Linked DNA regions of Homo sapiens: regions 1, 2, 3, 5 and 6 are each linked to region 4. Evidence: promoter capture Hi-C in 16 types of primary human blood cells and fetal thymus (Javierre and others, 2016). All regions are on one chromosome and are shown on one strand. The core of a region is centred on a gene start or on the middle of the fragment in contact, and the rest is flanking DNA. Distances in the headings are between cores, read along the strand shown. Region 1 holds the start of DCUN1D1 (defective in cullin neddylation 1 domain containing 1). Region 2 has its middle 39 kb from the start of LINC02031. Region 3 overlaps ATP11B-DT (ATP11B divergent transcript). Region 4 holds the start of TTC14 (tetratricopeptide repeat domain 14). Region 5 overlaps ATP11B (ATPase phospholipid transporting 11B (putative)). Region 6 overlaps MCCC1 (methylcrotonyl-CoA carboxylase subunit 1).

Region 1 (3,869 bases), core at 141-2,640, 2.4 Mb before region 4:
TGGGTGGAGGGTGGTGGAAAATGGCAATGGGAATGGATAGATCAGAGGAGAGAACTTTAATGCCATTCCAGAGGCTCATGCTTATGCAGCTCTTGGAGAATTTTACGGACAAATTCACATTTGCATTATAGAAAGACAACTATGGAGCAGTGGAGAAGGAGTAGAGGCTGGAAGATTAGGTAAGAAGTTACTGATGAGGAGAGATGATAAAGAATTGGCTGGCCAGGCGCGGTGGCTCACGCCTGTGATCCCAGTACTTTGGGAGACCGAGGTGGGGCAGATCATGAGGTCAGGAGTTCGAGACCAGCCTGACAAACATGGTGAAACCCTGTTTCTATTAAAAATGCAAAAAGTAGCTGGGCATGGTGGCACACATCTGTAATCCCAGCTACTCGGTGGGGGCTGAGACAGGAGAATCGCTTGAACCTGGGAGGCGGAGGTTGCAGTGAGCTGAGATTGCGCCATTGTACTCCAGCCTGGGTGACAGAACTAGACTCCATCTCAAAAACAAACAAAAAAATACAACAACAAAAAGAATTGGCTAAGAAATAGAAGGCAGGGTGCAGATTTAAAAGTCATTTAGGAGGGAAAACTGGTGAGATGCGGAGTAAGGGGATGAGGCAGGAAGAGTGGTGGATGATTCTTAGATTTCTAGTTTGGATGATTTGATAAAAGGCAGGAGGAAAAGTGGGTTTGGGGATAAAGTTTTAGATTTGGTGAGCTTGATGGACCTGTGAAATGACCAGAATGAGTGTTTAGGCCTGTCACTTGGGGACTGGAAGTCAAGATTTGAGATTCCTCTTGATATGGGCAGTAGTTGACGTGGGAATGTGAGTGACAGCGTGACACAGGCTGTATACAGAAGGACGTTCAGGAATGGTCAGGAAAGCCTAAATTGAGTACAGCCAGCAAAGGAGAGTGGTCAGAGTAAAGAGGAGATGCAGGAGAAGGTGGAGTCATGGAAAATGAACAGGAAATTCAAGGAGGAAGTGTCCAAACGCAGGCGAGAGGTCAATTAGAATAACTAAGGCCTGTACCTTGGTAGAGCTTAGGAAAACCCACAAACGATTATTTCAATGGAGTAGAACAGATTGGAGTAAGAGATACAGTGAATCCTCCTCATTAACGCCCTAGGTGTTAATACTTTAGGTCAAAAGCTAGGTGAATTCCTGGAGAACCTCCGTGGATGTAGTCCAGTTTCAGGCTTGCTGCATGAGGCAGATCTGGCTTCTCCTTGCAGGACTATTTACCCAGAGCCCAGCAAGGAGCTTGGCACATTCACATGCATTCTTTAAATATTGGGGGAAAGAATGGATGAACGGTTTGTGGCCGCCAGAAACCTGCCTTGGTACAGCGCTGGGCGCTCCCAGTACATGGCTAGCTCCAGGAAGTTAGGAGGCCTTTGGGAGTTACCAAAGAAGTTCTGTTGTTTTGGTAAGAACAAATTCATTAGTTATAGGGTTGATCTGGTCGTTTAATGCCTGTGCTGGTGATGATGGTGATAACGGGTCTACTCAGGTGGGTCCTGTTCTGAAACGTAGGTAAGCTCTTGGTACAGTTTCAGATGTGACTTTCTGAGTGAGTTTGCTTTCTTAGCTGTTTTATTTCCTTCCTGTGTGAAGGTGTCTTATCTCTCCAACTGGATACTACATTTCTGAAGGGCAAGGACCACTTACTCCACAGGAGTCTTCTGTCCTCCTTGCAGCACGAATTTGTCCACTTGATCCTCAGCTCAGAATCCTAGTGCTCCTCAGCCTCAGTTGATTTAACGCCCAGGGCAGGTCACACCTGGACTGTCCGCCCTGCGTGACTAGACCCTCAGTGAAAAAATGTGTAGTTGCTTCCCGAAACTTATCCTGGGCGGGCCGAACTGAGGGGATACTGAGAGCTAGCAGTAGGCAGGCAACCTGGACTCCCGCAGCCCGGCCTTGGGTCTCAGTGCACCCCACCCCATCTCACTATAGGGTTACCCCAACTGTCTCCCAGTAGACAGGTCTGGGGAGAGCCTGGTCCTCACTAATGGAGTGACAGCCACCGCAGGGGGGGGACTAAGGTCTCCCCTGGGATGCCCACGCGAGGGAACTGATGTAGGTCTGATACTGAGATTGGGGGGAAAAAGAAGAAAACACGGGGCAGGGGGAGGTGTTTCCACTATCTTCTCCCTTTTTTTGATACTGATGGGGAGGGGAGGTCTGGGATGGATGAAGCTCCTCAACCATCCGTTTCAGCCGCCCCCAGCTGCTCAACTTATCCGCCGCCGCTCGTGCCCGCTTCCAGCCTGCGTAGACCCGGCCGTGGTCGTCCGGAAGGAACCGCGTAGGAAACGGAGGTGGGGTGTCCCCCGGCGCCCCCACCAGAGACCGCCCGGCGCGGCAGGAGGATGTCGGCGCGCGGAGGGCTTGCGTCGCCCGCCCCTCCCCCGCCGCGCCCCCCGCCCCCGCCCACTCCCCGGGGGACCCCCGCGCCCGGGGGAAGCCCCGCGCGGGGCGCCCTCCGCCTGCCTCCGTCCCTCCGCCTCCCCGAGGTCCGGGGCTGCCTCCTCGGGCCGCGCCGGGCCGCCCCGCACTGCGCATGAGCGGGAGCCGGGCAAGCCCGTGAGAGGAGCCGCCGCCGCCGCCGCCGTCCATTCGCTGCGGAGCCGGAGGAGGAGGGGAGAGGCCTGGAGGACACCAACATGGTGAGGCACTGCGGCCGCCCGCCCGCCCTGCCGGCTGGGGGCCGGCGCTGCCGCGCACCCCCGCCCCGGCCGCCCTCCGTCCCGCGGCGACCCTGCAGCCCCGAGCCTCGGCCCGCGGCCTCCGTCCCGCTCCCAGGCGGGGGCTCTCCTGCCTGCCTCTCCCTTCCTCCTTCGCCCCTTCCCGCCCGGGCGCAGCCGCTACGCGAGAGCCGAGGAGGCGGAGCGGAGCCGGGCCTAGTCGGGAGCCCCGGGGAGTTTGGGGCGCGGGGAGCGGCCCCGGTGCCCCTTGCCGGGGCCCGGCGCGGGTGGGGGAGGCGTTGGGGCGGGGGGAGGGGAGGGGGCAACGGCCTTGCCCCTGCCCCTCTGCCGGCTCCATTGTGTCTGGTCGGGGACTGGGGTCTGGGGTTCCGGGTGAGTAGCCTCCCCCCGCCCCGAAGCCGGGGCTTCCCTCTCCGCCCGGCCGGGGAGAAGGAAAGACTTTCCCGGCGCGCCTCTCCCTCCTCCGCTCCCGGCTCCAATACCCCGCAAGTCTCCCAGGCAGTTTTGCTTGGGGCGGGGTATCAGCCCTTTTCCTTTCTCCATCACCTCTCGAGGCGTCCCATGCTTTTGGAGAAGGAGAGTTTCCCCGGCCAGTTGGTGGAGGTTATATTTACCTCTCTACTGAAAACATGGGAGACTGCTGAGCTTGGGGGAGGGGGTACGGAAGTGCAACCTGTTCTCATTTCATAAAATTAGGGAACACAGACTAGCGAGCGCCCTTTCGAGCACCTATTTTATTTGCTTGGGGGTGGGAGGAGTAATTGCTTTATTATAGTAGTTAAGGGCCATTTGTGATTTTTTTTAAAACAGTTTGTCAAGTTACTCTCCTTTTTTGTTTGGGGGGGGGAAAAAGTCCTCTCCAGGCTTGCAGACCCTTGTGGTCGAGTTGTTTACTTTGGTAATTAAGTACCTGACTCTGCTGGACGCTCTTCGCGTTTCAGAAGCGCTGTTTGGCATTGTACAGTCTGAGCGTGAGTTGAATTCCGTGCAGGTTACTGTATGAATAGTAAAAATGATATTGTTGTCCTTTGCTCGTGGGGAACATAAAGGCCTCTTTGAGGAGGGTGTGTGTGCGCGCCTGTGTTAAGGGAATGCTCCAGTGTCTTTGTTTTTAGTTGGTCTTATTTTTGCTGAATGACACTTCTAGTCCCAT
Region 2 (4,340 bases), core at 948-3,447, 2.1 Mb before region 4:
TTGAGAAAGGGTCTTGCACTGTCACCCAGGCTGGAGTGCAGTGGCATGATCTTGGCTCATTGCAGCCTCAACCTCCTGGGCTCAAGTGATCATCTCACCTCAGCCTCCTAAGTAGCTGGGACTACAGGTGCACGCCACCATGCCTGGCTAATTTTTTGTAGCGATGGGTTTTCACCATGTTGCCTGGCTATTCTCAAACTCCTGGGTTCAAAAGATCCACCCACCTTGGCCTCCCAAAGTGCTGGGATTGCAGGCATGAGCCAGTGCATCCGGCCTGCAGTTGTTGTTTCTTGACTAATAAACAAGTTTTGGTGTGCAGAGCTTTGATCCCCACTTACGTTTTGAAGTGCCTTTTCAGTTTTCATATGATGAAATTTATGTTCACTTCTCTGCCCTGAGTCTCAGTTACTTCCCTAGACGATGAAGAGTCAAGACCATGGATTCTCTCAGGTGCACTGAGTTTGGTGTGCTGTGTGAAGCCTGGTGTGTGTGTTGGGATTCACCACAGCCTCTTTTTATTGGCATACTAAACGTTTATACTGTGGCAAATGGGAGGACAAGTTCCTCCACCATGGACCTAAACAGACTCAAAATAAATAAAGCTTTGCTTCTTAAATACTGTCTTATCTGTAGATTATTTTCTCTTTGATAAAAATATATTTTTTTCAAATGACAGCCATTTTCATGTGTCGTTCCTTCTTAGAGAACATTGAGTTACCTCCTTCGAGCAGCCATGATGTTGGTGGCTTCATCCATCCCCCTTTTGGCAATATCCTGGACAATAAAGCAGAAAAATGGAAGGAAATTAATACTATGGTGACACTGTGGGGGGTCTCTATATCAACCCTTGCTTGAAGCTTGAGCTGAATTTTCAGTTATATGAGTCAATGTACTCATGTATTGTATAAGACAGATTTTGGGTTTTAGTCGCAGTTAAAAGCATCCTAATGAAAATATCTCTTGTTAAAGTATAACTTGAACATATGACTCAGGTGAAGATTTATCACCTCTGAGGGAAACCAAATTTAGGTTTCACTCCAGGTTGGAGTGCCGTGGTGCAACCTTGGCTCACTGCAACCTTGAACTCTTGGGCTCAAGTGATCCTCCCTCCTCAACCTCCCAAGTAGCTAGGACTACAAGCACCCGCCACCATGACCAGTTAATTTTTAAATGTTTTGAGAGATGGGCATCTGGCTACGTTGCCCAGGTTGGTCTCAAACTCCTGACCTCAGGTGATCCTCCTGCCTCAGGCTCCCAAAGTGCTGAGATTACAGGTGTGAGTCACCTTGCCTTGCCTGAATACACTGTTTTGACTTTTGAGATTAAAACGGAAGTAAATGAAATAAACTCACGACAATGAGCCAATGGCCAGCACTGTTATAGATCAATAACACAGGTTTCAACTCTTTGGAGGGAGAGTAACTAACTTACTTTCTGCACCTAACTTTCTGTATCACATCATTCTTTTCTTCCTGAGCTCAAACTCTGTCTCAGTAGCTTTCTGTAGCAGCCCCTGCGGGCACATAAGATAACATCTATCTGTGCTCCTTATCAAGCCATTCTGTCTAGTCCTAAATGTCAGAATAGGTACTAACACAGCTTTGGGCTTTGCAAGAAAATGTTCTCATCTTTTATCATCAGTTGGAAAGCTTTGGGGGCAGGAGAGACAAGAAGATTCATTCATTATTTTCAACACATATTTAAGTTTCTATATAAAACAAGGAGTGAGGTTCAATCCACAAAAGTTAATGGAAAAGTAACATCGAATTTCATGGTTGGCAGAGGTAAAGAACCACAGTTCCTAAGACACCGGCAAGTCAATTTAGGAAAGAAAAATTGCAGTGCCCACCTTCTTCCACAGAGGGGCACTCCAAGCTCATCACTGAAACCGTGCACTGTGTTGTTTTCAGTGAGCGGTTGTAGAAAAAGAACTTCCAATCTTTTCTCCATGCCTAGGGATTATTAAGAGCGTAGAATTTAAAGTACATTTGCAGGGCTCGATGTGAATGAGGCAAAACCATTTCAGTATCAATCCCAGTGGTGCCAGCAACCCATTCTAAATTAACTCAGGTTTAAATATGTTACAGAAATGTGTTAAATTTGAGAACAAATTTCACTTAGGATCTGTGGGTCTCTGTTACACAAAAGATGGAATACTTTGGAGGCAATGCAGTTCTTATTTAAAGCTAAAATATGGCTTATCATAAAACTATAGTCAGCCCGCTTCAAACACTCATGTCTTCACCAGAATGGGCAATATAGAATGAAAATTACACCTTGAGTAAACAGAATTGTAGATAAATGAGTTATGTCTCAAGACGTTTTGAATATTTTTATTATTGTGTCTGGGCCAAAAGTCTTTCCATATGTCCAAAGGCCCCGTGGCATTTCCAAATCAGCCGTGGGTGACGGTGGGACCGCGGGGCTCGTATGATGCCAACGCAAGCGTACCGGGTGGTCCTCATAGTTTGTTACATTCCAAAATGCAACCATTAAAGGGGCGGCCCTTACCTTCCCTAGTGAATACAAAAAGCCTTTGGAGACCAAAGGGCTGGAATGCTGGGGCAAACGCCACCCCACGTGCTGACCCCTTGGCCAGAGCCGAGGCGGGCGGCCTGGAGTCCCCAGCGCGGAGCCCCCAGGTTCCCAGGAGCTCGGGTCGCTCTCCGCTCTCCGCCCCTCGCCCGGGCCCACGGAAAGGGCTAAATGGCTTGCGACCAAACAGCGAATTTAAAAGGAAGCTTTCACGAAAAGCCCAAGGGAGCGGCAGCCCAGATTGTGTGGAGGGCAGAGCCGCGGGTTCCGAGGGTCCCCGGGGCGAAGCGGGCAGGGGCGCACCTCCGGGCCGCGGGCAGATGGAACCCGGGCTCCCGGGCCGGCGCGCGGGGGGCGGCCGCCTAGACATCCTCTCATTCGGCTGAAGTTTATTCTGGGCCACCGAGAGCTGGAACAGGAAATGTTCCGTCTTTCATGTCCACCGGTGGGCTTCAGACAGTTTTGCACCTCCCGGCGAGCACTGATTAGCCGGCTGAGTTCTGCCGCATTTGAAGTTCACCATTTATTATTAAAGAGAAGTGGCAGTGATTAGTGCTGGGTCCTCGGGGAGTGGAATAAATATTTACTAAATAAGAACGTTCCGCCATAAAGGAACGGCTCGAACAGGTTTCTGAAACCCCGGCGCGGGCCCCAAGTGCCGCCCCCAGGCAGGAAGCGGCGTTGCGGGGCTTTCCGCGAGAGGCTGCCATCTGCAGACCGTGCTGGGCGGCGACCTCCGCGGGGCAGGGCTCGGCCCGGCGCAGCCAGGGCCCGACGAAACTCGGCACTCTGGGCGTTTAAGTTATTTTATAGGCTGTGTTTGTTTTATAAAGGCAGAGGTGAATGTCAAACTAAACTTCGAACCTTTCTTTAATTTAAGGAACAAAGTAACATTTTATCGCTCAAGTAAGGGGACTGTGTTGCTTCCAACGTTAGGAGCATTTTCCAGTATGCTCCAAAGTGTACCCAAATTGTGAGCATCCAAGAAAGCATATTTATGTATATTTCAAAACATTATGTCATACAATGTAAATTATACAGTTTTTATTTGTCAACTGAAGAATAATAGTAAAAAAAAAAGTTTATTTAGTTTATTTGGCAATTAACTTACACGATGGCATCCCTGTCAAAAGCATTCATGTTGGTTGTTTAAAAAGCGTTTTCCTTAATTATTAGAATAATACTTTTACTGTAGAAAATATGAAATTTGCATATATCTAAACATCAGTATCACATGCTTTTTTCCATCATATTTTGCAGTGGGAATTGTCCAATGACATTACATATTTTTAGGGACAAATTTAGTGTCTATATCCATTTATTTAACTTACAGTGAATTAATAAACATTAAGGTAGTTTCAAGTTTTCCTTATTATAATAGCTCAATTAATATTTTTGTATGCAATTCTACACTTGTCTGATTATTCCCTGGCACCATTTTATTTTGAATTTCTTTTATTGTAAGTTGGGTTTAATATTATATTGCGAATAATTACAGAGAAGGGCCAGTTTTTGCTCATCACCATGTACCTGGTGTCTTGTATTATGCTGAGCACATACCAAATGCCCAATAGATATTGATTGAATGAATAAAAGAATAAAAAGTTAGTAGAACATTTGAATTTCTTGTTTTGTGAATTGCTTAATATTATTCATTTATTATGATAAGTTATCTTTTTCTTATGAATTTATAAGCTGTGTTTTAGGTAATAAGGATTTAACCTTCGGTTTGTCGCACATATGGCAAACCTCCCTCCCGTCTACAAAGCATAAGTTTGTGTGTATGTGTGTGTGTTTGGGTACTT
Region 3 (3,789 bases), core at 297-2,796, 2.2 Mb before region 4:
AAAATAAAAAAATGAAAAAAAACTGCAGTTTAAATGTGACTCTAATCACACTATTAAACAGTGTACATTCTTGTAACTAACACAGAAGTTTGGTTCATAACAAATTTAGTTATTAATAAATGAGGCCTCTATATGGTATTCAAAGAAAATGCTTGTGGAATGAAAGACATCTTTTGTGAATATACAGTGAGGGGAGTCTCAAAGTCTGTTACTTCTTTATAGTTCTCTCTCCAACAGAATATTATCTCTGTGGATGACAGTAGATCTTCAATATCTTGCTCTTACCTATCTTTATTATCTTTATCCCCAATTGGTTTCAGTTTCCCTCCTCTGCAAGCAATTGTCTTTATTTCATCATTCAGATAGACTGAGCTGATGGATCAACAGAAGCCAGAAAATTATATATGCACACTGTATGTTTAATACTGGTGTGCAATCTCATTACTGTAAGCACAATGTTTTTAAAAAAATCTGTTCAAACAGAGTTTATATGAATAGCAACCTTTGTTCTCTCAGGCTTACTTGAGTGGAAAAAATCCTTTTGAGGCTATAAAAGAACTTGTGGTACAATATTGATTAATCAGTAATGCAAATTAGCTTTGAGTTTACCATTCAAATGTGGAAAAATATCTTTGAATAAAAAAGTGAGACCCTCACTTCTGGCTCTGTGCTGCTTTCGGTGGTTGATTCCCTCAGACATACTTCCCTCATAATGATGGTGAGGATTATTACCTTATGAATTTAAAAAAATCATCTGTTGACCTTTACTATCATGCCTGAAATAAAGCTCCTAAGAAGAAAATATTAATTTCAGTTGAAGGTAAATTCAATAGAGTTTCACTTCATCTCAACCACATTTTCCAAACCACTAGACCACTAAATGTTCACTGGAGACTTTAAGATCGTGGTAAAATTAGCAGTTTGGTAATAATTGATTTGAGGGCCAAGAAACAATAGAGGCTCAAAACCCACAAACCCCAAATCTATTAAATTATCCTGTTTTGAATGTTTACTTTAAAAAAAGAGTAAGCAGATGATTTTAAAACAGTCACTTCATTTTGGATTGTATACCCTTCTGAGGAAGGATTAAATTTTATAGTTTAACAAAGCTTTCTGAAGACTCAAGATTTGAGCTGATATATTTTAATAAGGAAAAATTATTACCTGCTTGTTAATTTAGTCAAAAATATTATTTATCTATTTTTTAAAAATTACCTGGGCGTGGTGGTGCATACCTGTAGTCCCAGCTACTCAGGAGGTGGAAGTGGCAGGATCGTTTGAGCCTGGGAGGTTGAGGCTTCAGTGAGCCAAGACTGCACCACTGCACTCTAATCTGGGTGTTAGAGCAAGACCCTGTCTCAAAAAAAAAAAAAAAGTCTTTTATCTCTAAAGTCCCAGAGATGTGAAAATGTATCATTAAATTTTAAATTATCAGTAACAATCAAGATTCAAGTTGCTTCAAGAATGCTAAAATTGACTTTATTTTATTGTCAGTTCCTTTATATTGTGCCTTTTCTGGATTTGTAGCCAATAATTTGTTAGATCCAGTTATGCTTATTAATTTAATTTTCTTTTTCACTATATGGCAAACAAGATGTATTCCCAGATTATTGTTTTGTAGGAATTACTCTTTGTTTTTCTTAAAACTATACACTGTTTTTTTATATGATTTTCCATGATCTTATTTAATCTCACAGCATGAGTTTAGCAATTATTTAGTAGCTATATGTCCACATTTTCTTGGCCCTGATTGGCCTTGTAATCCACTGTATACAATTTAATCCACATACCAGGCATTAAACAACAACAATAGAATCAATAATAATAATGCCTACTATTTGTTGAGGACTCACTAGGAGCCAAGCCCTGAACTAAATACGTAACACATTATCTTATTTAATCCTCTCTAATCCCAATGAGGGCATTATTTTATTCCTATTATGACACTATTAACTATTATATAGCTACCATTTGTTAAGCTTGGTGGTATGAACTAAGTGCTTTACATGTATCATTTAATTCTCACAACAACTATATTTTATTTATAGTTACATCAGCCATATGGTTAAAATGGTTGGTAAAGTACTGAAATACTTCCATAGTGGTCAGTGAAGAACTCAGTGCCCTGAGTTCCCCAAGTATCCTCCATACCACACCCTATATCTCCAGTGGCTCAACTCTTCTCCTGCGGACCCCTCAACCTTGTCCTCAAATTCTGAAACTAAAGGGTTAACACTGGGCACAGCAGGTGCTCCCAACATCGAGGCAATACCAGAGTCCCTTCTGATTGGTTGGTGCCCAAGATGTACCAGGCATTAAATATTTTGACTATTAACAGGAACGTAGGTATTATAGTTCCCATTTTGCAGGTGACAAAAATCACATAAGTACACAAAAGTTAAGCAACTTGCCTAAGATCACCCATCTACGAACTGTCAGAACCAGAACACAAACCTAGGTCTCTCTCAGGTTAAAATCTTTGCTCTTAACTAGTATAGTATGCTAAAAAACGGAGAATACCAGCTCACCATTGATGGGCACTTCCCAGGCCCAATGTGAATAGCTTTGGAACTCTGTACTCTGTGTCCGGCTACTTGTGCGATGGATTTAATGCTTTTCATTCTTATCTTAAAGCTGTGAAAATACTGTTTTCTTAACTGGTTCCAAGACATAATAATGAGCATGCAAGTACTGGATTGATAATGGGTATTGCTTTGCATTATTTTGCTCTCATCCTATACTCACTAATTTAGCCCATGTTGTGTTATTTTGCAACAATCTCCCTATAAGTAAAAATTACCTTATTCATTTTATGCCTATGTCCCCACATAAACAGCCTTGGTATTTAGGCTAATCGTTAAACACATCAAGAATGGTAAGTTATAAAAGTAACATTTTAATATACTTTTAAACTGTGCTTACTTTTATATAATTTAATGTCTAAAATCCAAAGACCAAAGGCTGAAAATCTTTGTTATTATGTTTTGCTTCTCTACTTCTGTGTCTCATCTACCATGTCTTTCTCTCCATTCCTGATAAAAAGCTAACTTCCAATTTAATGTACATCATGTCCAAGTCATTTATATAATCTTGTCCTTAATATTTAAGAAAATTCTAATGCTATTATTACAGTTCTGTATATCTTTTGAAGTCAGTAACTTAGACCGACACAGGAACCAACAATTCTGCCGACTACAAAGCACACTTTTATTTAACAAAATGCAGCAAATTCCCAGAGCTGAGTATGCCACGTCCATTCACCAAAGTGGGAAAATTTGACTAGGGGAGAAAGCAGAATTACTGTGGTCATGGTGAAAGGGTGGTATTTGGAAATAGAAGAGGCAGATCTCTTGAAGATATGTCTGGCATCAAGTCACAGAGCCAAGAAGTTTTCTTTTTGTTTTTGTTTGTTTGTTTGTTTGTGACAGCGTCTCACTCTGTCCAGGGTCTATTCACTCCAGGCTGGAGTGCAGTAGCACAAGCATAGCTCACTGCAGCCTCGACCTCTTGGACTCAAGGGATCCTCCCGCCTCAGCCTCCTATGTAGCTGGGACTACAGGCATGTGCTACCATGCCTGACTAATTTTTAAATATTTTAGAGAAACAGGTCTCACTGTGTTGAGAACTCCTGGCCTCAAGTGATACTTCTGCCTTGGCCTCCCGGTGTTGAGATTACAGGCAGGATCCACTGTGCCAGGCCAAAGAAGCTTTCTTAATGGAGGCCTCAGCATTATAGCTAAAGGCAGCCTGGCTCTTTGGGACAGCGTGTACCCATCGGTTGCTCTGATA
Region 4 (4,145 bases), core at 703-3,202:
AGTAAAAATTTAAATAAGGATTTAGTTAAAAGTAATTTCCGTGTCCAAACACAGTAAAATATGTTTGCTGGTTCAGTTAAAAAACTAAAATCTCATGAAACTTTCCATTAGTTTAGGAACCAAATATGATGGCTTATGACAGTATACAACATGCATCAAAAACAAACTAAAATTTGTCTAAAAGGTATAAGGATTCCAGTGAAAATGAAATGCCAATTCTCCAAAGTATTTTGTCTGTTATCCAATCTGTAATACCTTCTGCTTTTCTTCCTTTTTATCTGCCTGGATAGATGGCAAATACCCAATCTTTTATCGTGACACATTAGTTTAAATTCAGGACTATCCATCTTGGGCAAAGTATCTTAATATAATGTACAAACCACTTACATTTAATTATTGTAAATATATAAATGAAACTTCTCTCCAAATTATCCACATGAAAATATACAATGCCAAATATTAACTAATTAAGAATACATATGTTCAACTACAAGAAATAAGTCTGAATATCAATCAACCTCACCACGTCCACTGATACCTCTTTGAGCATTTAGAAAAGAACACTGTGCCTGCCAACCAGTTTAAATTTAAAAAATCCCAAAAACCAGAAATGGAGGGAGAAACTGGGTAACTTACACTAATTTTTTTAAACTATTTTTCTCCAATTAACATTTAATTTCCAAAAGCATCTTGGCAGGTATACTTGAGCACAACTGCATGCAAAGATATAGTTCTTGCATTGAGATGCGTTAACAAAAACAGAAGCAATCCAAGTAACAAAAATAACTTACTGTGATTTCTAAGTGGGCTATATCTCTCATGATACCACTTCCTAAACAGATCAACACCATGAAAAAACCGAATTCCCGAATAGAACTAATTCTTCCAATCACTATATCACCACGCTCAATATCTCGGAAAAACAGCTCTCTCCGATCCATACTAGGTATCTCCATGAATTGCTCTAAAGGTGGCATGATTGCATAATGATCTAAAAAAAAAAAATTAACAAAATCACTAACGATAGTTTTGAGTTCCGTTTCACCTGAAGTACTGTTAAACCGAACCGCAATCTTAAAGATTTTAAGGCTAAACTGACCTTCACTGTCTTCATTAATTTCAGAAGTTGCAGGTGCATCTGATTTCCAGGAAAGTGCAAAAAGCAGATCCGCTTTTTTGGAGATGAATTTCTGTATCTCGATGTTGTCAACTCTCTTCTCTTTTCTTAAAAAGAAAAAAATATATATGAAAATTGGGTTATCTGCAAAGCCTCTTTACTTCTAACCTTCTGCTTATGGCTTTCATCGCCCATTCCGCTCCATCCTAAGCTGCAGACAATACAACCTCAGACAAAAAGTTTTAACTAGGCATTCCCTCATTAACCAACCTGGAGGTGGAGAGCGGGGAAACTTAAAAAGTGACGCCTCCAACTCAGATAGGAAAGCTCAAGGGATTTTTAGCTAAGGAATCTGCGCCTCTACCAAGCAGTGCCAGAGAAAAAGTTCAGCCCGCATCCCGCATTGCACAACCCAGGAGCGCCCCCCGTCCACCCAGCCCAAGACACCAGCGCGCGATCGTCCTGTGCTCACGGCCGCGGCTCCACTTCCTCTAGACGCAAACCCGGGGCTGCGGTAGTGGCTGCCAGAGCTGCGTCCCCTCTTCCGTGGCGCAGTGGCACCAACGTCTCATTACCTGCCCTGCAACGGGTGCTGGGGCGGCGGGCCCCGGGCTGGCTCGGCGGCCGACCCCAGGAGGCTACGGAAGTGTGGATTGTCCTGCTGTTCGCTCCGAAGTAGAGAGAGCAAAGACGACCCGTGGCAATTTAGCGACTGCCGCAAAAGGTCCCGGTCCATGGCTAGAGAATGCAGGGCCCGGAGGCCGACGGGCTGATAGTTCCCTGTTCCGTGTCCGCTACTTGAGCCGGGTGGTACAGGAAGCGGAAGAAACTGTCTGGAGGCTGCCGGAAGTACACAGACAGCACAACCAGTTACACCCGGAAGTGTTCTGGGGTCGCCCCCACGGCGGCGCGGCGGAGCTCAGCCTCGATCTCGCGAAACCGAGCGAGACTACGGAAGGCCGAAGGATTGGGCTCAGCATTGCTTGGGCTAAAGGCTGACTAGGGCTTCCAGGAAGTGATGTATGTGAGAAGTTTGCTTTTTAAAGTGTACGTGGGATCGTTATTACGTCGAAATAGCTCGAGCTGTAACCTAGGGTAAATAATAATTCCTTTTCGTATTCATCAAGGTGCTTCTAAGTGCCAGTGCCAGGGTAAGAACCCTATACGAGTCTCCAAGCTTCTTCCCTCGACGTACTCTCTGCGTAAATCAATACCTGTGTCTCTGGCGTAACCCCATTCAACCGGCTGCTCCGGGAAGGTTTCCAGGTGGTTTTAAGGGCAGAAGAAAGGAAGGACACGGACATTTGTTAAGCACCTGGAGTGGTGTTCTCCATCCATACCCCATTTACTGTTAGTGATTGTGAATTCTAAAACCAGGATGGCTTTAATGTCTCCACACGTGCATATGCCATTCAAGTTTTACAATAACTAATGAACACATGCATTTCTTATTTAGTTTATCTCAATGGTTGCTCAAAATTTAGTGTCTGTGGGACTTACTGTATAGTGGTATGTACGCAAAAGTCAATATACTGTTCTTATGGACAATTCAAGTGATTTTCAAAGGGAATTTCAACTTAGGTCCCCCATCCCCTTACTTACTGACTTGAGAACCTAACCACTATGGTAGCTATTGTACTTTTTCATTTTAGAAAACGAGGAAACATGCTCAGAGAGTCCCAGTAAATTGCTCAATGGCACACAGCTAGTAAGAGGCTAGAGTTAGGATTCCAAACGAAGTATTAATTGGTCTTCTCAGGCAGAGTTGCTGGATTGAGTATTTTATCATATGGAAGGTCTAACTAACCCTAATTTTGAGATCATGTAGCTTCGTTTTATTCCAGTATAAAATTTGTACCATTTAAATATGTTCAGTGTAAATAGTTCAGTATAGTCCTCTTGAACAGAAATAAACGGTGACAGTTAGTCTCTCCACTTCCCACCATGTGTCTTTGAGGAAATCAACTTGCCTTTCACTGTGTTACCACTTTTGTATAGGAGATCTAGCCCAGAACATAATCGATACTGCCACACTGTTTTGTGGAAAACCCAGGCAAATAGGTAAACAGTTTGAGACTTGAGAAAATGCAACAAACAAGAATGCAACTGTAAAAGATAAATTTGGGTTAGGCACGGTGGCTCACACCTGTAATCCCAGTACTTTGGGAGGCCGAGGGTGGATCACTTGAGGTCAGGAGTTCAGAGACCAGCTTGGCCACCATGGCCTAACCCCGTCTCTACTAAAAATACAAAAATTAGCCGAGCGTGGTGGCTCATGCCTGTAGTCCCAGCTACTCGGGAGGCTGAGGCACGAGAATCTCTTGAACTCCGGAGGCGGGGGTTGTAATGAACTGAGATCGCGCCACGGCAGTCCAGCTTGGGCGCCGGAGGGAGACTCCGTCTCAATAAATAAATAAATAAATAAATTTCAAGCTTCTATAGGCATATCAACTTTAATAAATGGTACAGACTGACTTGTTTTAAGCCATAACTCTAGAGAATGGTTGTTTTTAGGAAAGAGTGCTGTCACTGAAAAGGAAAGCTGACCACTAAAAATTATTATAGACATCTTGATAAGTATGTGATTTGTGTTAGAGTCAATCTGTGATCAAGGACCTCATTTTTTGGAGGGACTAAGAAACCGGTGTCTGAGAACCAGACACCAAATAGTGTTACTTAGCCTGGGAATGTCACCTTCTGAGGCCATTCTTCAGTAGCACATGGTTTTATCACTATGGGATCTGTCTATACTTCTTCCTAATTCCAACACTAGGATAACCCTCCCCCACCTCATACCTTGAACATCTGAAATGGCCGTGAACATAGAAAGCAGCTCCTTTTAGGGGGTAAACAGCATTTATCAAGAGTGATATTTTTCGTATAGTAGTGACAGAAGAAATGCACTTTAAGCAAATGTACTCAAAACTCAGCGTGGGATTTTCTGTCTTTGGTTAGTTCCTTATGTGAAAGTAGCCACATTAGTTGGGTGCCGAAGGCAGTCTTATTCTTTACTTCCGGAATACTACTC
Region 5 (4,212 bases), core at 1,028-3,527, 2.2 Mb before region 4:
TGGGAAGGTCTACATTTTGAACTGTTCCCTTTACTTCACAAAAGCAAAGACAGATAGTCTTTTTTTTTTTTAAATTAATACTTAGCCAAGCTTAACATAAGATAATCATTTCTGTAATCAGGAGCTGAGCCTCTGGGACTCTCAGTGTGGAAATAAGCAGTTTGAAGTTCAACTCCTATAGGATAAGAATAGCCGGATAAGAATCAGCAGTACCCCCTCTGCACCATGGTTCTAGAGTCAGGTTCAATTAGTAGTATTGTGCTTGGGTCCAGGCTTGCTCCCACCTTTGAAAGAAGCCTGGAAAAAGCTGGGTACCTTTAAAATAAGTATGTTTAAGATCTCCAAAGGAATAATGGAATAATATTTTTAATGAAAAATTATGAAACAAATCAGGCACATATGCAGAAAGAGCAGACAGAAATGAACAAGGTCCAATAATAAATAAATGCTGAAAATGAGAAATTGTCATTTAAGTAAAAATTCAGAAGACAGGATAAACTACAGTGAAAACAAGAGAATTGGTGGACTAGAAGCTAGAAATAAAAAATTTCTGCTGAAAACAGCACAGATAGAAAATGAGATGAGAATAAGAAAAGAGCCATAGAGAACAAATTAAGAGGCTTCAACATATGTCAAGCAAGAGTTCTAGAATGAGAAAACTAAAGGCTGAGAAATAATATTTTAAAGAAAAAATGGCTAAAAATTTTTCTGAATTGTATAGTCTTCAGATTGAAAGCACACGCAAATGCAGAGCAGGAAAAACAATATGAAAAAACATGATGGATACATCACAGTAAAATTACAAAATATCAAGGACAAAGATAATCTTAAAAATAATGTGAAAGATATTACCAACAAAGTAATGACAATTAGATTAAAAGCATATTTCATAACAGCAATAATAAATGTCAGAAAGTAATGGAATAAGTAGTATCTCCAATACGTAGAGCTAAAGTAACCATTAATCTAGAATTCTGTATCTAGCTAAATTCCCATTCAATAGTGACTATGAAATAAAAACATTACCACTCATGAACTCTTGCTTAAAAACAACTAAAGAAGTTATTCAGCAAGAATAAAATTAAATCCAGAAGAAAGAGGTGGTATGCAAGAAACAATAATGAGTAAAAGATATCACTAAATCCTTGTGCTAAATAAAAATTACCATATTAATTAAAAACTAATGCTAAAAAACATTGAGTTTAAAAAGAAGTAGGACTACAACCCACATTATGGGAGAAAATATTTGCAAATCACATCTCATAAAGGTCTTATATCTAGAATATATAAAGAAGTCTTACAACTCAAGAATTTTTTTTAAAACACAAGAAATAACCCAATTAAAAACAAGCGGCCCAGTGCGGTGGCTCACGCCTGTAATCCCAGCACTTTGGGAAGCCAAGGCAGACAGATCACCTGAGGTTAGGAGTTCGAGACCAGTCTGACCAACATGGAGAAACCCCATCATTACTAAAAAAAAAAAAAAAGAAATTAGCTGGGCCTGGTAGCACGCGCCTATAATACCAGCTACTTGGGAGGCTGAGGCAGGAGAATCACTTCAATCTGGGAGGCGGAGGTTGCCATGATCTGAGATCGTGCCATTGCATTCCAGCCTGGGCAACAAGAGTGAAACTCCGTCTCAAAAGAAAAAAAAAAAAGCAAAAATATCTGAATAGGCATTTCTCCAAAAATGATACACAAATGGCCAACAGGTACATAAAAAAAATTGGATATCATTAGTCATTAGGGAAGCACAAACCAAAATCGCAGTAAGATACTATTCATACCCACTAGGATGACTATAATCAAAAAGACAGACAAAAGTAAGTGTTGGCAAGGATATGAAGACATTGGAACCCTCATACATTGCTAGTGGGAATGTAAAATGGTCCAGATAGTTTGGAAAACACTTTGGCAATTCCTCACAAAGTTAAAAACAGAGTTACTATATGACCCAATAAAAGTCTACTCTTTAGGTATAAGCCCAAATGAAAATACACATCTACATAACAACTTACAGATGAATGGTCAAAGCCGTGTTATTTCTAATACCCAGAAGGCAGAAACAACCCAAATGTCCATCAATTGATGGATGAATTAAAAAATGTGGTATATCCATAAAATTGAGTATTATTTGGCAATAAAAAGAAATGAAGTAGTGATACATGCTACAACATAGAAGAACCTTGAAAACATTATGCTAGGTGAAAGAACACTGTTACAAAATACCACATATATGGTACGATGACATTTATATAAAATGTTCAGAGTAGGCAAATCTAGAAACAGAAAGTGGTTGATTTAGGCTGGGGGCTTGAGGTTTGGGAAAATGGGGAATGACAGTTAATGAGTATCGAGTTTCTTTTGGGAAGAAAAAATATCCTAAAATTAGAGTGTGGTGATGGTTACACTAACCTGTGAATACACTAGAAAAAAACTGAATCATATACTTTATAAGGGTAAATTGTATGTTATGTGAGTTGTATCTCAATAAAGCTGGTCAAAGAGAAAAAACAGACTACTATGCAACTGTAACGCAGAAGATGAGAAAGAACACTGGAGTTAAGAAATCTAAATTCCTGCCAGGTGCGGTCGCTCACACCTGTAATCCCAGCACTTTGGGAGGCCAAGGCGAGCGGATCACGAGGCCAGGAGATCAAGACCATGGTGAAACCCCGTCTCTGCTAAAAACACAAAAAATTAGCCGGGCGTCGTGGCGGGTGCCTGTAGTCCCAGCTACTCGGGAGGCTGAGGTAGGAGAATGGCCTGAACCCTGGAGGCAGAGCTTGCAGTGAGCCAAGATCACGCCACTGCACTTCAGCCTGGGGGTCAGAGGGAGACTCTGTCTCAAAAGAAAAAAAAAGAAAAAAAAAAGAAATCTAAATTCCTATGTTATTTGTAGATTATGTATAGAGATGCTCAATGACTATAGGCATAACTAGAAAAATAAATAAAAATGAAAATACAATCCATAGCTTATAATCATCAAAGGGAAAAAATATGAAGAAACTTAACTTCAATGCAAAGCTAATCAAAATCTAGAACTATTTTCCATGGAGCTAGACAAACACTGTAAGTGGCATATGGAAGAATAAAGTTCAGTATAATTGTAAAAAGAAAAAAAAAGAAGGTGGGGGTTCTGCCTGCCAAATACCAAGACTTATCATTAAAATACTATAATTAAGACAGAGCATTATTTGTGCACCAAGAAATGAATGAAATGGAATACAGAATCTAGAATGAGACCAAGGTATATGAAAGAGAATGCTGGTATATGACAGAGTATGTGAAAGAGAATGCTGGTACGTGTCCTAAATGTGTCACTTATGACAGAGAAGGCAAACAACACAGACTCGTGGAGGAAGGATGCCTCATTCAATAAACAGCATTGACACAACTTTCTATACGGGAGAAAACAAATTCCCTTCCTTATTCCATATACAAAAATTGATTCCAGGTATCTTTAAAGATCTAAATGTTAAAAAACTAATTTTAAAACAATTTGAAGAAAACGCTGGAAAAACAGCTTTATGATCCTAGTATAACAAAGGAATTGTCAAATATGTAATAAAAAGCAGAAATCATATGTCTAATAAATTTACCTACAAATAAATTTAAACTTTCTGTATAAAAAAAGATACCATAAACTAAATTAAATACACGGAACAGACTAGAAGATATTTACAACATATACAACAAAGAATTGGCATCCAGGCTATAGCAAGAATTAGGAAAGGCCAAACTACCCAATGGAAAACGGGCAATCTATTCATGTGAATGAAATTGAGGATACCTGCATCTCACCAGCAATCAAGAAAATGCAAATTAGAACAAAATGAGACACTATTTCACACCCATCAGACTGGTACGTTTTTTCAAGTCTGACAGTACAAAGTGTTGAGCAAGATGTAGGGAAAGGAGAACTCTGTTTTAGAAAATACTTTGGCAATATTTAGTAACAGTCATAATGTACGTGACCCATGACCCAGCAATTCCACTTCTGGGTATTTAACTTCAAAATAAATAAATAAATAAACAATAATAGTCATTGTAACACTTTTTGTAACAGGAAAAAATTGGCAACAATCCGAATATACATTAGAAAAAAAGAACCCCCCATAAGATTGGCTGGGGCAGGGATTACTTCATTTTGGTAGTTCCAAAGCCTAGCAACAAATATGCTATCACAGAAAACTAATTCACTTACAGAAA
Region 6 (4,380 bases), core at 378-2,877, 2.5 Mb before region 4:
TGGGAGCGTTGTTATAATCCGGTTCCGGGGAAGCCCAAAGGGATCAACGACTTCCTCAACGAAACACAGCTAGTAAGAAATGGGGCCGGGATGCCCTCAAAGCCATTTTTCAGTTCAGCTGTGCCCCATCAGGTGTCCAGTTCAGAGAAAGACTCCTGGAGTTCCTTCTCATTGTTAGAAGAGTGAAGTTGTCAAGAAGAGCAAATGTACCTTCCACAGAGCTGGGAAATTATTTTGTCAAAAACTCTTGTACCCAAGTTTGAACAACGCTATCAGATGACTCAGTCTAGCTCACCTGACTCCAGCTCTGTTTCAAATTTTGAGCTCTAAGCTTTGGTGGCAATAACTCTGGCAGTGAAAAAACCCTCAGGCTTGTAGATAGCTTTGCTTCTTTGTCTTCTTTTGCTTCATCGTTATCATCCTTCATCATTCTGGAAAGATTGACAGTTTAGTGTTCAAGGGCACAGACTCTGCAGTCAAGGCTGAGGTCTTAGTTAGCTACTCACTAGGTGTGTGACTTTGGGTAAGTTACTTAATATTTCTTCTTTAATTTCCTCACCTTGGAGATGATACGAGTACCTTGGGTTGTGAAAACTAAATGAATTAATTCATGGAATGAGGTTTAAGCACAATCTGGTACATAAGATCAGTCTATAAATGCAAACTCAACCATTTATATGAACGTTTGCTTGCTTTTATTTTCCAGAAATATTGTAGATGCCCTTTTTAGTTACTTAATTGTAGGAGTGCCCCAGAGAAACATAAGAAAGTTGTTGGAAGTTGGCGGGGCGCGGTAGCTCACGCCTGTAATCGCAGCACTTTGGGACGCCGAGGCGGGCAGATCACGAGGTCAGGAGATCGAGACCAACCTGGATAACACGGTGAAACCCCGTCTGTACTAAAAAATACAAAAAATTTAGCCGGGCGTGGTGACACGCGCCTATAGTCCCGCCTGTTAGTCCCAGCTACTCGGGAGGCTGAGGCAGGAGAATGGTGTGAACCCAGGAGGCGGAGCTTGCAGTGAGCTAAGATCACGCCACTGCACTCCAGCCTGGGCGACAGAGTAAGACTCCGTCTCAAATAAAAAATAAAAAAATAAAAAAAAAAGTTGGTGTAAGTAATGTTAATGTTCTTCTTGTTCTTCTGGTTTTTCTTTTCTTAGGCCTCCAGGGCTCTTCAGGATAGTACCATAGACCCATTTCCTGTCTTCCCTTTCAAAGCTTAGCTATTGTCTAAAGAACTATCCTCAAGTATGTCACTCTGGAGAGTGTTAGAGTTGTTAATGGCTTATAGAAGTAAAACTCTTTGCCAGGAGACTTGGTTCATGCCTGTATTTTCAGCAGTTTCTCAGCACTGTGGGATCCAAGGTGGGAGGATTGCTTGAGTTCAAGAGTTCAAGACCAGCCTGGGCAACACAGTGAGGCTTCATCTCTACAAAACATTAAAAAATTAGCCAGGCGTAGTGGCACACACTTGTAGTCACAGCTACTTGGGAGGATGAGGAGGGCGAGGACGGCCTGAGTCCAGGGGTTCCAGGCCGTAGTGAGCCATGATCACACCACTGTACTCCATCCTGGGTGACATCCCATCTCAAATAAAACAAAAACAAAAAAATCTTAACAGCACAGATAGTTTACATTATTTTTATGTTATGAATCTTTAGTAGCTCACAGAAAATAATCTCTGGTGGCAGAATTATAGACATGACAATAAGCTGGTATAGAGCTACCTTGAATCAGGGAAGCAGCTTCTTTTTTTTTTTTTGAGACGGAGTCTCGCTCTGTCGCCCAGGCCGGACTGCGGACTGCAGTGGCGCAATCTCGGCTCACTGCAAGCTCCGGGGAAGCAGCTTCTTAATCTTGTTTAAGCCATTGCTTTTAAGTTGCAGCTTAGATAATTGTGAAAAATGGAATAGATGATCAGAACATTGTTGGGATAGTGGATTACAGTTAAGTGGGATCTCTGTCTCTTTCTCCCTCTTTTTCCCTCTCTCCCTTCTTCTGTCTTCACTAGAAGATTGCAAAAGAAAGCTTTAGGTCAACAGTAGCCTTGAAACCGAATCAGTCTTAAGCTAGCTTTACCAACAAGCAACCATTTAATAGATACATCTGCCCAGAATAGGCCTTGAAACTTATCAGAAGCCTATCTGAAGAATGTAAAGGGAAGACGATGCTATGAGCTAGAAAATACCTCATAAAGATCAGGAAAGATGATCCCCCTCCTTCAGGATCAAGAAGGTAACATCAGCTGAAATGGAAAGGTGTGGGAAAGCAGCAGCCTCGTGAGGAAGCTAGCTCACGGAACTCTCCTGCCAAAGCTGTGGGTCTTCCCAGCAGCTCCTCATGGATGGCAGCATCTGAGTGTGCATTGTAGGGCAATGAGTGTATAGACGCATATAGATGTGTAGATGTCTACTGCATCTCCGCTCCAGTGAAATACTAGTCCTGCTCAACTACATAGTCATATACATAATATGTATATACTACTGCCTAGTTACATAGTTTCTAATGCACACGCTGTGCTTTTATCTTGTGCTTTGTGAATAATCTAAAATGGTTAGTTAGTCCTTTATAACCACATCTTCCAGGTATAGACAAAAAGATAGGTGGAATTGCTTCTGTAATTTGTTTGTTTCCCTGCATATGCTTTTTATTTATTTATTTATTTTTTTTTTTGAGATGGAGTCTCACTCTGTCACCCAGGCTGGAATGTAGTGGCACGATCTTGGCTCACTGCAACCTCCACCTCCCAAGTTCAAGTGATACTCCTGCCTCAGCCTCCCAAGTAGCTGAGATTACAGGTGCGCACCACCACACCTGGCTAATTTTTGTATTGTTAGTAGAGATGGGGTTTCACCATGTTGGCCAGGCTGGTCTCGAACTCCTGACCTCAGGTAATCCCCCCACCTCAGCCTCTCAAATTGCTAGGATTACAGGCGTGAGCCACTGCACCCAGCCCACTTATCCTCTTTAGCTGAAACTTAATAGACGTTATACTTTTTTGTTCCTAAAGTGAATCTGGCCTGTTTTCTGTCAGCTCTTGGTTACTTTATTTTATACACAGGTATCACGAAACTTAAAAATTGTTGAGACTTCTACCTCATTAAAATACCTCAAGTCATTTTGTCTCCCCATTTCTCCATTTTTTTAAATACAAGGACTTGGAATAGAATTGTATAGTACTTTTAAATCTGAGAGGTACCTTCAAGATCACCTCTTATAGTCTCATCTCGTGTGTGAGAACACTGAAGCCCAAGCTATTAAATCTTGCATCCTCAACTGGGATGATACCACCGCTAAAGGGTGGAAATTGATTCTTAGGAGAGCCAGGAAATCTTAGATTTTGTCATGGTTTACGGCTTTCCAAAGCTCAACCTTACCCCACCCTTCCTACAAGGAATAAAATCTTTTAAAAGTTTTCTCATTAGGAGAGTAATAATGAAAAAAAAGTTGGAGAAACACTGATGTAAAGTGACTCGACCCTGGGCAAGCTGGTCATTGGAGGGACTCGGATGAGAATGCAGCTTTTCTGGTCCCACAGCCAACATTCTTTCTGTTGCCCCTGTTTAACTTCCGTTTATTTCTCTGGTCTTACTTTTTAAACATGTCTCATGTTTAAACTTGATTGGTATTTTTCAAACTGTAGATTGACCAGCATATTTTAATAAAATAGGATACAACTGAAAGAACCAAAAGAGTTTTGTTCTTTTTGTTTTTGTTTTTTTTTTTGAGACGGAGTCTCGCTCTGTCACCCAGGCTGGAGTGCAGTGGCCCAGTCTCGGCTCACTGCAAGCTCTGCCTCCTGGGTTCACGCCATTCTCCTGCCTCAGCCTCCCGAGTAGCTGGGACTACAGGTGCCCGCCATGACGCCCGGCTAATTTTTTGTGTTTTCAGTAGAGACAGGGTTTCACCGTGTTAGCCAGGATGGCCTCAATCTCCTGACCTCATGATCTGCTTGCCTCGGCTTCCCAAAGTGCTGGGATTACAGGTGTGAGCCACCGTGCCTGGCCAGGGCAGAATGAGTCATTTTTAACAAAACATCTGTTTTCATTAAGTGTGTGTCCTGGGTAGTTTGTATTGTGAGTTGTAGCCAAAAAGGTTTCAAAAAAGCTAAACTAGATGATGTTGGTATACCTTGGTTGTTTAATCATCTCTGACTGTGGTCTTATGCCAGCCTCAGGAACAAGCAGGCTAGGTGACTCATTCAAGGACAGGTAGTACGAGGGAAAACAGCCAGAACTCTAACTCTTGAGTTCTAGATTAGTTTTCTACCCACTAAGAAAGTCTTACTAAAGCACTGTTAGTTGGCTTAAGGTTTCATGTTTTAAGAAACTGAAATTCTTTTGAAAGAACAATTGTGTTGCCTATTCTGTTTAATTGT

What was found. Contacts are between HindIII fragments. The CHiCAGO score rates a contact against its expected background, and 5 or more counts as called.
Region 1: a contact is called between a fragment that was not itself captured here and the fragment with the promoter of TTC14 in region 4, in 2 of 17 cell types (non-activated CD4 T cells and activated CD4 T cells). The highest score is 7.2, in non-activated CD4 T cells.
Region 2: a fragment that was not itself captured here is called in contact with the fragment with the promoter of TTC14 in region 4 in 7 of 17 cell types (non-activated CD4 T cells, naive B cells, total CD8 T cells and 4 more); the score reaches 10.0 in non-activated CD4 T cells.
Region 3: a fragment that was not itself captured here is called in contact with the fragment with the promoter of TTC14 in region 4 in 2 of 17 cell types (naive B cells and total CD8 T cells); the score reaches 5.7 in naive B cells.
Region 5: a fragment that was not itself captured here is called in contact with the fragment with the promoter of TTC14 in region 4 in 2 of 17 cell types (naive CD8 T cells and naive CD4 T cells); the score reaches 7.1 in naive CD8 T cells.
Region 6: a contact is called between a fragment that was not itself captured here and the fragment with the promoter of TTC14 in region 4, in 1 of 17 cell types (total CD8 T cells). The highest score is 5.3, in total CD8 T cells.

Annotation. Positions count from the first base shown.
Region 1 is chr3:182,979,295-182,983,163 of GRCh38, reverse strand. DCUN1D1 (defective in cullin neddylation 1 domain containing 1) reads left to right here and starts at 2,626. Exons shown (of 7, transcript NM_020640.4): 1 at 2,626-2,677. The coding sequence starts at 2,675. LOC105374246 (a long non-coding RNA gene) reads right to left here and starts at 2,357. Exons shown (of 2, transcript XR_924771.2): 1 at 1,677-2,357. RefSeq lists silencers at 2,338-2,777, 2,838-2,957. The HindIII fragment of the contact is 5,858 bases long and covers 1-3,869 here.
Region 2 is chr3:182,681,282-182,685,621 of GRCh38, reverse strand. No RefSeq gene overlaps it. Among named protein-coding and RNA genes, the nearest start is that of LINC02031, 39 kb to the right of the region's middle. RefSeq lists enhancers at 1,917-1,966, 3,091-3,140 and silencers at 2,811-2,880, 3,291-3,360. The HindIII fragment of the contact is 1,092 bases long and covers 1,652-2,743 here.
Region 3 is chr3:182,779,466-182,783,254 of GRCh38, reverse strand. It overlaps ATP11B-DT (ATP11B divergent transcript), which reads left to right. Exons shown (of 3, transcript NR_187316.1): 3 at 1-656. Among named protein-coding and RNA genes, the nearest start is that of ATP11B-DT, 12 kb to the left of the region's middle. The HindIII fragment of the contact is 870 bases long and covers 1,112-1,981 here.
Region 4 is chr3:180,599,970-180,604,114 of GRCh38, reverse strand. TTC14 (tetratricopeptide repeat domain 14) reads right to left here and starts at 1,952. Exons shown (of 12, transcript NM_133462.4): 1 at 1,693-1,952; 2 at 1,100-1,224; 3 at 792-991. The coding sequence starts at 1,853. It overlaps TTC14-DT (TTC14 divergent transcript), which reads left to right and starts at 2,002. Exons shown (of 3, transcript NR_183700.1): 1 at 2,002-2,212. RefSeq lists an enhancer at 1,872-2,161. The HindIII fragment of the contact is 2,365 bases long and covers 1-2,296 here.
Region 5 is chr3:182,802,901-182,807,112 of GRCh38, reverse strand. All of the region lies in intron 1 of ATP11B (ATPase phospholipid transporting 11B (putative)), which reads right to left. Among named protein-coding and RNA genes, the nearest start is that of ATP11B, 12 kb to the right of the region's middle. The HindIII fragment of the contact is 4,370 bases long and covers 93-4,212 here.
Region 6 is chr3:183,094,631-183,099,010 of GRCh38, reverse strand. All of the region lies in intron 1 of MCCC1 (methylcrotonyl-CoA carboxylase subunit 1), which reads left to right. Among named protein-coding and RNA genes, the nearest start is that of MCCC1, 2.7 kb to the left of the region's middle. The HindIII fragment of the contact is 810 bases long and covers 1,223-2,032 here.